Regions from separate parts of the Homo sapiens genome. Here regions 2, 3 and 4 are each linked to region 1. Evidence: promoter capture Hi-C in human tissues and cell types (Jung and others, 2019). All regions are on one chromosome and are shown on one strand. The core of a region is centred on a gene start or on the middle of the fragment in contact, and the rest is flanking DNA. Distances in the headings are between cores, read along the strand shown.

Region 1 (2,918 bases), core at 116-2,615:
TCCCTAGGGGGTTGTGAACCTGGGACACCTAGCCTTGCACGTGGTTTTGTTCCGCAGAGCCAATGCGCAGCTCTTAGCCTGGGTGAAATTTACCAAATTGTGGCAACAAAGAAACCCTTGCGGCTACTTTACACATTGAGAACCCAACCCGCTACTGCCTGAGCTGCTGAAAAAGGACTAAACGTGGTTTTTCATTCTTCTCCGAGACATTTCCGAGGAGAAATTAGTTCAGCAGGCAGCCCTTCACCCCTTTCCCCCTTCTTTCTCTCCTGACGGCTGGATTAGCGGACAGTCAGGGGAGTAACAGAACTTTTCCTGTCCCCAGCCCGGAGACCCTAGGGCTCCACAGAGTTTCCACTAGTGCTGTGTGTGGGTCTCGAATTGGAAAGCAGTGCTTGCGCCCACTGCATTGCCTCCCTGCACCAGGACAATCAAGGGTTCCGCTCCAGGCCTTGACGACACAGAGCAATCATCCTATGGAGAATATCCCTAAGTTAGAGCGCGAGTGCAAGGCGGGGTTCAGACTCGCAGCCCTGCGCTCTCGGGTCTAGGCGGCCTCATACTAGAGCGCAACTCCTCAAAAGACAAACTTGAACGAAAGCGCTACCGAGCTGGGGCATGCACCTGTCCCTGGCGCGGTCGGCTGCGGCTGTGGCCATTCACTCCCTCTCCCTTCCTTCTTCGTCAACCTGGGCGTCAGCCAGAGCTAGGAGCGCGTCTCAGGAAAGTTTGTGCCCGCTGAAGTTGCTCTGGTTTCTTAAAGGGGGCCCACAGATTGACTTTCAAAGTCCGTGGGCACCTCGCCCGTGATTCCGCAGAGCCGGGCGGGCTGGCCGCAGTAGCGGAGGCCCGCCCCCCTTAATCCCCAGCGGTCAGAGGCCGAGGACCCCGCGCAGGAAGTCCTGAGGCAGCACCCCCAACCACCCTGCTCTCACTTTCACAAAAGTCCTACAGCATTCGTTTGGCAAGAGCTTCCTTCAGGGGCATTGAGAGAGAGGAGGCACCCGCCGAGCAGTGACAAGGAACCTGGGAGTCCTGCCCGCATTCGCTTTGCTGAGCCCAGGCGCCCAGGACTGCAATTACCTTGTTCCGCAGAGGTCCTGGGGCTGAGCACGTCTCTGGGGCTTTAGCTGAAGGGGACTGGGGAAGCCGGAGGCCCTGGAGCCCACAGGCGCCCCTGGAGCTCTAGTGTCCCGACTCCTCTCCTGCCGCGGGGACTCCAAGCGCCGGACACGCGGGAGCGAGCGCTCAGCAGCCCCGGATCCTGCACGCCGGGGACGGTGAGCCTCGCTCGCGGCTCCCTCGCTGGGTCTGAACCAGGAGCAGCTGAGAACGTGCCGGGGAGAGGCCGAGCTCCGACTCACTCATCCCTTAGCACCGAGCCGCCTACTTATTTTAATCCACCACCCTCCCTCCTCCACCACCCCCACCCCCGCCCCTTGCCTCAGGATTCCTCCCCTCCCTCCCCTGCCCCCCAACCCTGCCCTGCGCCTGCGCAATGAAAGACAAAGTTTTTGCTGACCCGGGCAGCAGACTTTGGCAGCTGCTCTCGCTTGGACCCGGCCTCTCCCAACCTGCGTCCCCTCCTCTTCAGTCCCGCGCGACCCCTGCTGCCTTTTTAGGTCCAGAGCGGCACGCCTGGCGCACTGGAGGAAACGGTCCCTAGCAGATGAGAGCGGGCTGGCACCGCACGTTTCGAGGTCCTATACTTGGGCTCCTAGGACACAGCCCGTGCTCTTTGGGAGGAGGGAGGGAGGGGCAGTAGCTCTGTGCACCGGGATCCCCACACCGCGGCTTGGGTTTCAACGCACTTTGGCGCCTGACAGAGTCGCATCTCCTCCCAGAATCTCTTTCCAGAGGCGGCAGACCCCGAGTGTGGAGCAGCTCCTGGCTATCCAAGCGTGCTCGGGGCCAGGGTGTTAACCCAGGCAGCGCTGGTTAATTCCTGGTGCGGGAGGGCCAGGGTCACCGAAGCAAGCGAGCTGTAACATCTGAGTGCTTATGGTTGACCCCAGACCCTAAGTTCTGGAGTCCAGTAGAAAGAACAAAGAGTAGGGAAAGGAGGTCAGGAAAGTTATTTTCCTGGGGCCCAGAACTCTCTGAGATTTCACCCCAATGCACAGTGGCACTCTCTACTTACATATTTGTTTTAGGATGGATCAGAGTTTAGAGAGCCGCACTGGCAAGCTAGACGAGCTGCAAAGTTGTCAGTTCCAGGGCCTCTGAGTCAAGGAGCTGGTTCAGGTGGAGTTTTTAATCGGAAAGGAATCAGAGTTCTGGACATTAAAAATTCTATCTTCATTGCCTAGGCATTATGGAGGGTACCATCACCCCCTTGACTACCCATCTCTGAAAGCTGACCTCCGGCTGACCCCAGCCCAATCCCTCCCTAATGCCTTTCTGGAATACCCTTCCAGGCCTTGGGTTTGGCAAGGAGGAGTCACTGGTTTCCTGGGACTTGTGTGGGTCCAGATCACACAACTGCACTCTCTGCCTTTGCCCCAGAGTTGCTGCTGAGTGACTCTTGGAGCTGGATCCTAGATTCCGTGGGTCCCTAAGTACTGTACTGCTTCTCTCCCGAGGAGCTTCTGCTATCTCCAGCTTTGGTTTGCAAAGCTAATCTGATTTTCTTGGGAGGTGAAGAAGGTTGTAATACCTGACCTAGGGAGATGGTAATGAAGACTCCCCTCCCTCAAAGGCATAGTTGAAAGAGGATTTCCTTATATCCCCAGGCCTTTAGAACAGAATCTAGCCTCTAACCCCTGGGTAACTTCGTCTTGTTTGAGGAGGAGTAAGAGGGGGTGCAATCTTTGCTCCAACGAACAGCTTTTACCCAGTGCCTCAGGTTAGTGCAGAAGTAAGAGATTCACATAAGTTTGTCCATGCTCCTGGAATCTTAGCAGTTGCTAGGATGTAGT
Region 2 (2,918 bases), core at 223-2,722, 750 kb before region 1:
TACTTACCACACTGTATTGTGAATGTTTATTCAAAAGTTTCCTTCACTAGACTGCCAGTTTCTTTAACTTATGGGCTGTTCCAATTCATCTCTACATCAGTGGGGGCAATCACAGTGCCTGTCACAGAGCAGGTGCCAAAAATTGAGCCTCAAGATAGCTCTTCATTTGAAAAAAAAAAAGTGATGTTTACATAGCATTGACCAAGAGCATATTGTCACAGGCTTTGCCCTGTGTTTTTCCTTTAGGTCATTTCTATTCAACAAACTTGTGTTGAGTACATACCAGGTGCCAGGTGCTGTGTCAAGTTTCAGGGATAAGTTGATGAAACTGACTCAATCACTGATTGCCCCCAGGAACTTACGGTCTACCAGGAAGAGAAGACAAGTGCCCACATAACTGTGACACAGTGGGTGCTGTGTCCATCATAAGAGGAGTAGGAAGAAAGCAAAGCACTGTGCTCTGAGAGTCCAAAAGTGAGAAGGCAAGAATGAGGTTTATAAAGGGTGGCAAGAGAAAGGCTTCCTAGAGAATTTGCCATTTGGATGAATGAGTGGGAGATAAGATATATTAGTTTGCCAGGGCTGTCATAACAAAGTACCACAAATTGAGTATCTAATAAAACCAGAAATTTATTTTCTCATTGTTCTGGAGGCTGGAAACCTGACATAAAGGCATCAGAAGGGTTAGCTCCTTTGGGGGCTGGGAGGGATAATCTGTTCTATGCTCTTGCCTAGCCTTTGGTGGTTTGCTGGCAGCCTTCGACATTTCTTGGCTTGTAGAAGCATTATCTCAACCTCTGCTTTTATCTTCATATGGCGTTCTCTCTGTGTGCATGTCTCTGTGTCTAAATTCCCCTTTTAATAAGGATAACAGTCATATTGAACTAGAGGCTTACCTTACTTCAGTACGACCTTATCTTAACTAATAACATCTGCAATTACCCTAGTTCCAAATGAGGTCACATTGTGAGGTAGTGGGGGTTAGAACTTCACTATATGCATTTTGGGAGGGACACAATTCAACCCGTAACAAGTAGGTTTTCAGGAAGCAAAGACTAGAAGAGGAGCATAAGAAGAAAAGCTCTCCAGGAAGCAAGTACTATGTATACTTTCTGCTTCCAATAAGCAAGCTTCTGAATTACTCAATCTCTGACCATTCCCTTTACTACCCCTCTCTCAACATTTTACTTATTTAGTTCCCTCTGTCAAGAATGTTGTCCTTTATCCTTGCCTCCTCCTCCTTATCCCAGAACTTCCTGTTAAATCCTGTCTGTGACACTAAGAGGTCCACACTGTGACACTAAAAGATACTATTTTCTGTACAATCCAGTTTCCATACTTTAGAGAACTCACTCTATTTCTTAGCCATGCTTCTCCATACAAGACACAAACTCATTAAAACCAAAAGGCATATGTACTTCCTAAGCACATATGCTACTATTTTCCGCACTTTATACCATACTTAATGTACCTAAGGCCCCAGAATTTTCCACCCAAAGGGTTCCATGTGTGTTTCTGATGCCTGCTTGGAGAGCCTTCCTAGGCCAGTCATTCGGAGGACATGGACCATGCTGACAGAAGCCACATTCCTAGAAGGTGCTGGTGGGAAGGGAAGAGAGGGAGCTTTCTTTAATTGTGCTGTTCTGCCATCTATCAGTGGTAGAGGAGTGGTTGCCTGTAAGAACCAGGTCAAACACCCACCACTTTCATTTTCTCAAAGAAGCCATTCCTGATCCTCTAGTCTCATTCAAATAATGCTAAGATCCTACCGCCTGCTTCACACATCAGACTTTGTTTCCACTCTCCTGGCCAAGCATTTCCTTGGAACCTCTCTAAAACCACTTACTACATTTTATCGTAGTCATATTTTTGTTTGTTATATTTCCCCTTTGTAATAGTTAATTTATGTATCAACTTGACTGGGCTAAATAATGCCCAGATAGATGGTAAAATATTATTTCAGGGTGTGTCTGTGAGAGTGTTTCTGGAAGAGATTAGCTTTTGAACTGGTTAGACTGAGTAAAGAAGATCCACCCTCACCAAGATGTATACTGGGGGTCTTTTCTTGAGGGTCTGAATAGACCAAAAAGGGGGAGGAAGGGTGAAATGGTTGTCTCTGCTTAAGCTAGAACACCCATCTTCTCTTGCCTTTGGACATCCCCTTTCCATAAAGTCATGCTTAGTCACCTGCTAATCAGTTAAATGCTGAATTGTTCAAATTGTTCAAATTGTGTGTTAGCAGTTAGCAGCTCCCAAAGGTCTTTGACTTCAGTCTTCAAGCCCTGGTCTTGGGTCTTCAGACTTGGACTGGGATTTATACCATTGGCTTCCCTGGTTCTCAGGCATTTGAGTTTGGACTGGAACTATGCCACGGATTGAGGGACTTCTCAGCCTCCACAATCACATAAGCCAATTCCTCATATAAATCTCTTTCTGTATGTCTGTAAATGTCCTATTGGCTCTATTTCTTTGGAGAATCCTAACTAATACATAGTCCTCCTTTTCTGTTCCTCTACTCACTATTATGTTTTTCCCTGAATTAACCTCTAAGCTACTTAGAAGTAGAGACTGTGCATTCTCATCTTTTTATGTAATGCAGCTAAATATGTAGCTACTAAGCAAATATTCTTTAAATACATTCAGAGATTCCTGAATGAAATATGAGATTTTGTAGACTCTGGAAGGAAGTTAGTGTAGTGGAAACAGCATGATTTGGAGTTGGACAGTCCTGGATTGTGCTCCATCATTTTGTATGAGGTAATGGGGCAGGGTCACTTATGAATTCTTTTAAAACTTAGTTTTCTCCTTTGTGGAATGACAGCCTCCAGTAGGAATAGCTTAATTAATCATGGTCATAGAAAGACAAAGCACAAAATAAGTGTGAGAAGCATCTTGCCCACCTGCTTAAGATTTACCTG
Region 3 (2,918 bases), core at 208-2,707, 670 kb before region 1:
ATTCAACAAGTGGAAATGGGAAAATTGGGTATGTACATGAAAAGAATGACACTGGATCCTTAAATGGTATCCTACACAAAAATCAAATCAAAATGTATTAAAAACCTCAGTATAAGATCTAAAACTGTAAAAATTCCTGGAAGAAAATATACAGAGGAAAAGCTTCTTGACATTGCCCTTGGCAATTAGTTTTTGGATTTCACAACAAAAGCTCAGTGAATAAAAACAAAAATAAATAAGTGGGACTATATCAAACTAAAAAGGTTCTCCAAATAGCAAAAGAAAAAGACAGCTTATGGTTTGGGAGACAATATTTGCAAACTATACATCTGATAAGAGATTAACTCCCAAAATATATAAGGAAGTCACACAATAGCAAAAAAAAAGTTTAAAAAATGAGCAAAAATCTGGACATTTTTCTGAACACATAAAAATATCCAACAGGTATATGAAAAGGTGCTCACCATCAGTAATCATCAGATAAATATAAAAACCACAATGAGATATAGTTTCACATCTGTTAGCATGGCTATTATCAAAAAGACAAGAGATAGCAAGTGTTGGTGAGAGTCAAAATTAAAACTCTTGTGACCCAGTGGTTCCTTTTCTGATTATATGCCCCAAATTAATGGAATCAACACCTTGTAGACATTTCTACACTCTGATGTGCATCACAGCTTTATTCACAATAGCCAAGATAAGGAAACAACGTAAGTGTTCATCAATAGATAAATGGATAAAGAAAATGGTATCTGTCTGTCTATCCATCCATCCATCCATCCATCTTTTTTTTTCATTATTGTACTTTAAGTTTTAGGGTACATGTGCACACTGTGCAGGTTTGTTACATATGTATACATGTGCCATGTTGGTGTGCTGCACCCATTAACTCGTTATTTAGCATTAGGTATATCTCCTAATGCTATCCCTCCCCCCTCCCCCCACCCCACAACAGGACCCAGTGTGTGATGTTCCCCTTCCTGTGTCCATGTGTTCTCATTGTTCAATCCCACCTATGAGTGAGAACATGTGGTGTTTGGTTTTTTGTCCTTGCGATAGTTTGCTGAGAATGGTGGTTTCTAGCTTCATCCATGTCCCTACAAAGGACATGAAATCATCCTTTTTCATGGCTGCATAGTATTCCATGGTGTATATGTGCCACATTTTCTTAATCCAGTCTATCATTGTTGGCCATTTGGGTTGGTTCCAAGTCTTTGCTATTGTGAATAGTGCCTCAATAAACATACATGTGCATGTGTCTTTATAACAGCATGATTTATAATCCTTTGGGTATATACACAGTAATGGGATGGCTGGATCAAATGGTATTTCTAGTTCTAGATCCCTGAGGAATTGCCACACTGACTTCCACAATGGTTGAACTAGTTTACAGTCCCACCAACAGTGTAAAAGTGTTCCTATTTCTCTACATCCTCTCCAGCACCTGTTGTTCCCTAACTTTTTAATGATCACCATTCTAACTGGTGTGAGATGGTATCTCATGGTGGTTTTGATTTGCATTTCTCTGATGGCCAGTGATGATGAGCATTTTTTCATGTGTCTTTTGGCTGCATAAATGTCTTCTTTTGAGAAGTGTCTGTTCATATCCTTTGCCCACTTGTTGATGGGGTTGTTTTTTTCTTGTAAATTTGTTTGAGTTCCTTGTAGATTCTGGATATTAGCCCTTTGTCAGATGAGTAGATTGCAAAAATGTTCTCCCATTCTGTAGGTTGCCTGTTCACTCTGATGGTGGTTTCTTTTGCTGTGCAGAATCTCTTTAGTTTAATTAGATCCCATTTGTCAATTTTGGCTTTTGTTACCATTGCTTTTGGTGTTTTAGACATGAAGTCCTTGCCCATGCCTATGTCCTGAATGGTATTGCCAAGGTTTTCTTCTAGAGTTTTTATGGTTTTAGGTCTAACATTTAAGTCTTTAATCCATCTTGAATTAATTTTTGTATAAGGTGTAAGGAAGGTATCCAGTTTCTTCTTTCTACATATGGCTAGCCAGTTTTCCCAGCACCATTTATTAAATAGGGAATCCTTTCCCCATTTCTTGTTTTTGTCAGGTTTGTCAAAGATCAGATAGTTGTAGATATGTGGCATTATTTCTGAGGGCTCTGTTCTGTTCCATTGGTCTATATCTCTGTTTTGGTACCAGTACCATGCTGTTTTGGTTACTGTAGCCTTGTAGTATAGTTTGAAGTCAGGTAGCATGATGCCGCCAGCTTTGTTCTTTTGGCTTAGTATTGACTTGGAAATGCGGGCTCTTTTTTGATTCCCTATGAACTTTAAAGTAGTTTTTTCCAATTCTGTGAAGAAATTCATTGGTAGCTTGATGGGGATGGCATTGAATCTATAAATTACCTTGGGCAGTATGGCCATTTTCACGATATTGATTCTTCCTACCCATGAGCATGGAATGTTCTTCCATTTGTTTGTATCCTCTTTTATTTCATTGAGCAGTGGTTTGTAGTTCTCCTTGAAGAGGTCCTTCACATCCCTTGTAAGTTGGATTCCTAGGTATTTTATTCTCTTTGAAGCAATTGTGAATGGGAGTTCACTCATGATTTGGCTGTTTGTCTGTTATTGGTGTATAAGAATGCTTGTGATTTTTGCACATTGATTTTGTATCCTGAGACTTTGCTGAAGTTGCTTATCAGCTTAAGGAGATTTTGGGCTGAGAGGATGGGGTTTTCTAGGTATACAATCATGTCGTCTGCAAACAGGGACAATTTGACTTCCTCTTTTCCTAATTGAATACCCTTTATTTCCTTCTCCTGCCTGATTGCCCTGGCCAGAACTTCCAACACTATGTTGAATAGAAGTGGTGAGAGAGGGCATCCCTGTCTTGTGCCAGTTTTCAAAGGGAATGCTTCCAGTTTTTGCCCATTCAGTATGATATTGGCTGTGGGTTTG
Region 4 (2,918 bases), core at 181-2,680, 640 kb before region 1:
TGGCTCAGCTTGTTTTAGAGGCTCCAATCATCTAAACTTCCAGGGAAAAATTTGAACTTCCCTGCAAGACAAAGTTGCAAAGAAGCAATAGGCTTTGGTATCAGAAACATAACAACTCGGTCTCTGCCTTTCCTGCTTTCTAGCTGGCCACCTAATCTTCCTGAGCCTCCCTAATCTCCTCCGCTTGACATGGGAACTAACCAAGGTCATATATGTAGAATTCTTAGCCTGCACCAGGTACTTATACATATTACACAACAGTTCTATTTCCCTCTCGCCTCCCTTACTCCTCCATCTCACTCTCTTCCTGAAGATAATTAGGATGAGTTACCTAGTAAGGCAATTTAAGGGGCATTTCTAAAATATCAGATTTAAAAACAGTCATCAATACTACTCTTTTAAACAATCTGCATCTCACCTCTGTAAAATTATCTTTCTAGTAAAATTAAGCTTCAATAAATTGGAATGGAATTAAAAGATGATAAGGTTTATTGTTTGAGAATGTGAGTGAAATGGGGTGGGGAGGAGATTAAAATTATCTGTGAGATAGAAGGTTAAATTTTTTTAAATGTTAAGAAAAACATGAGTAAACATTTAATGTCAGCACACAGCATGGCAATGAAGTGCCACACAATTTCCAACAGTGTCTTTATCCCACAGAAACCATATTTGTATTTCTCGTGAATGGTGGTTTCCCTGTGAAGAGACCCAGAGGATTTGCTCTGCTCTTTTTTGATGATGATGATGATGATGGTGATGATGATGGATAAGACCTAGGAGGGAGGGGAAGAGGAGACAAGAACAGAAAGGGGAAAATGGGAGGGATATTAATTAATTTGTATCCATTATTGAGTGCCTATTGGTTAGATTATTATTTTTTTCTGATGATGAATCTAGGGTCATTTCTTCCTTCCCCTTCTATTATCTGTTATTCACTTTTGTCCTATTTGTGCGTCTTTACTGCATGTACTAGCAATATGAGAGATGGCCCATTTCTATGCATTTGACCACATTGCCTACTCTTCTTTTTAAATTACTAACATTTATAAGGGTAATAAGCTATATCATTAATTTGTTTTTCATTGCTGGTGAGGTCTGCGTATGTCTTTTATAAATTATGTTTAAGATTGGAATAAATCAGAATGAGGATCAAATTATTATGAATAGAGAGTGCTTTCCTCATTTTTTATATTTTGTCTACTTCAAGTAGTTTTTATTGGAGTTTTGTATAAGTTTATGGGGTGATGAATTTTTATCTGTGTTTATTTTTTCTGCTAAACAAGAACTCTGAGAAGCTGGGTCACGCGCCTTTGGTTTTGGGACGCGGATAGTTTTGAGAAGTTATGAGGTTCAACATTTCTGAGACTAACTGTATCCATGCACAAAGCCCTGCCTTGGCTTCACCTTTGAACCTAGGTTCCTCGAAGACCCAATTTACTCTTCATTTTAGTTCATTATCCCCAGTGGGAGAGTGAGGTACCGTTCAGCCAAGTAGGCTCAGCCCGAAAGAGTCTACTTTCCCTAAACAAAATCTAATCACGAGTTTCCTGGAAGAGAGAGCTAGTTTGACTGTTTGGTCAGGAAAATGCCATGGTAAGATGAACTCATCTAACTGTACTTGGTTCTCATGGCCTAATCTTTTTATATGTGAAACATCACAGAGAAAATTCTGTGTCCTGAACTCTAATGGGCTCCAATTATGCTCTTGGGGAGAGTGAGATTGGTTGGAAGGAATGCTTTTAGGAGTTTTGGCATAATGGGTAGACATTGAACATAGTGCACTATTTCTGTCATTTATATAAAAACTATTCTACATCTGAATATGCTCTTCATTAAATGTATCAGCTTAGGAACTCTACCAAGATCATAGCCAAATAATATGTCACTCCGTATATAACCATGACAATCTTGAGATTAAGCAACCCTGGATGCTACTTTTGATGATGTTTTTCTAGCATCTTTAAACTTACAAATGTAAACATTTGGCAGATATTTTTATATTTCACTTTGTATTGTAAAAGGGTCTTAACCCTGAAAAAGTAGCCAGATTTTCACTTGATAGTTCTCGAATCTCAGTTTTCCTATGCCTCAAACAAGGGCCTTTAAGCAGCAATGTGCCACATTTTTTATTAGTCACTACAGTTAAAAAAAAATTAGAAAGACATTCATTTGTTTACTCATTCATTTGGATGTCATTTGTTGAGCATCCATTATGTGCTCAGCATCATGCTAGGTTCTGTGAGGTGATGTGGAAATGAATATAGTAAATTTATTCATTCATTCAGTCAATGAACATTATTTAAAATCTGTGATTTGATGAGTTAATAAAATGTGTTTCCCATCTTCAGTAAATTCACAGTGTAGCTACAGAAACTCCAGTTAATAAAATTGTTGAGATCCTTTGGTTTAACATGAAATAAATGGAAACTGTCTTAGATGCTAGGAAACTACTTTGCAAATAATGAAACTTTGCACTTGAGATTATTTGTTTAGCATCAAACGAAACAGCCTTTTCTGTCTCCTGACCATACAAGGTACTGCGGACACATATTAATTCAGTTTATTTGACTAGAAATTTACCATATGACTCCACAGTTCTAGGTCCTATGCCAAACATTGGGAATAACAAGATCAAAGAAGCACAGTTCCTGCCCTTGAAGAACTTAGTAGCAATGGTGATGAGGATGCTCAGGAATTGTGCAATGGTACAAGTGATGCATGAGCACTGAAGAGGGAGCAGAGAATGTCCCTAACAGTAATAGCGCATGAACTGAATTTCAAAACAGTAAAGAGAATGGGGCATCAGTGTTCTGGCCACAAATGAAAGAGATCAGAGGTCTGAGAGAGTTTGCTCTGTTGGAGGAACTACATGTCGTGTGTTATTACTGGAGCATGAATTCCATGGAAGAGCATTTGGA

The links. Contacts are between HindIII fragments. The study calls those that stand out against the background at their distance.
Region 2: a contact is called between a fragment that was not itself captured here and the fragment with the promoter of OSR1 in region 1, in 1 of the 25 tissues and cell types used here (bladder).
Region 3: a contact is called between a fragment that was not itself captured here and the fragment with the promoter of OSR1 in region 1, in 2 of the 25 tissues and cell types used here (H1 embryonic stem cells and mesendoderm cells).
Region 4: a fragment that was not itself captured here is called in contact with the fragment with the promoter of OSR1 in region 1 in 2 of the 25 tissues and cell types used here (IMR-90 fibroblasts and mesendoderm cells).

The regions. Positions count from the first base shown.
Region 1 is chr2:19,357,258-19,360,175 of GRCh38, forward strand. It overlaps OSR1 (odd-skipped related transcription factor 1), which reads right to left and starts at 1,366. Exons shown (of 3, transcript NM_145260.3): 1 at 1,084-1,366. RefSeq lists enhancers at 1-44, 710-1,238. The HindIII fragment of the contact is 12,145 bases long and covers 1-2,918 here.
Region 2 is chr2:18,611,574-18,614,491 of GRCh38, forward strand. All of the region lies in intron 2 of LOC105373456 (a long non-coding RNA gene), which reads left to right. Among named protein-coding and RNA genes, the nearest start is that of NT5C1B-RDH14, 23 kb to the left of the region's middle. The HindIII fragment of the contact is 5,502 bases long and covers 1-2,918 here.
Region 3 is chr2:18,691,414-18,694,331 of GRCh38, forward strand. The region is part of intron 4 of LOC105373456 (a long non-coding RNA gene); the gene reads left to right. Among named protein-coding and RNA genes, the nearest start is that of NT5C1B-RDH14, 100 kb to the left of the region's middle. The HindIII fragment of the contact is 5,274 bases long and covers 1-2,918 here.
Region 4 is chr2:18,717,204-18,720,121 of GRCh38, forward strand. The region is part of intron 4 of LOC105373456 (a long non-coding RNA gene); the gene reads left to right. Among named protein-coding and RNA genes, the nearest start is that of NT5C1B-RDH14, 130 kb to the left of the region's middle. The HindIII fragment of the contact is 6,305 bases long and covers 1-2,918 here.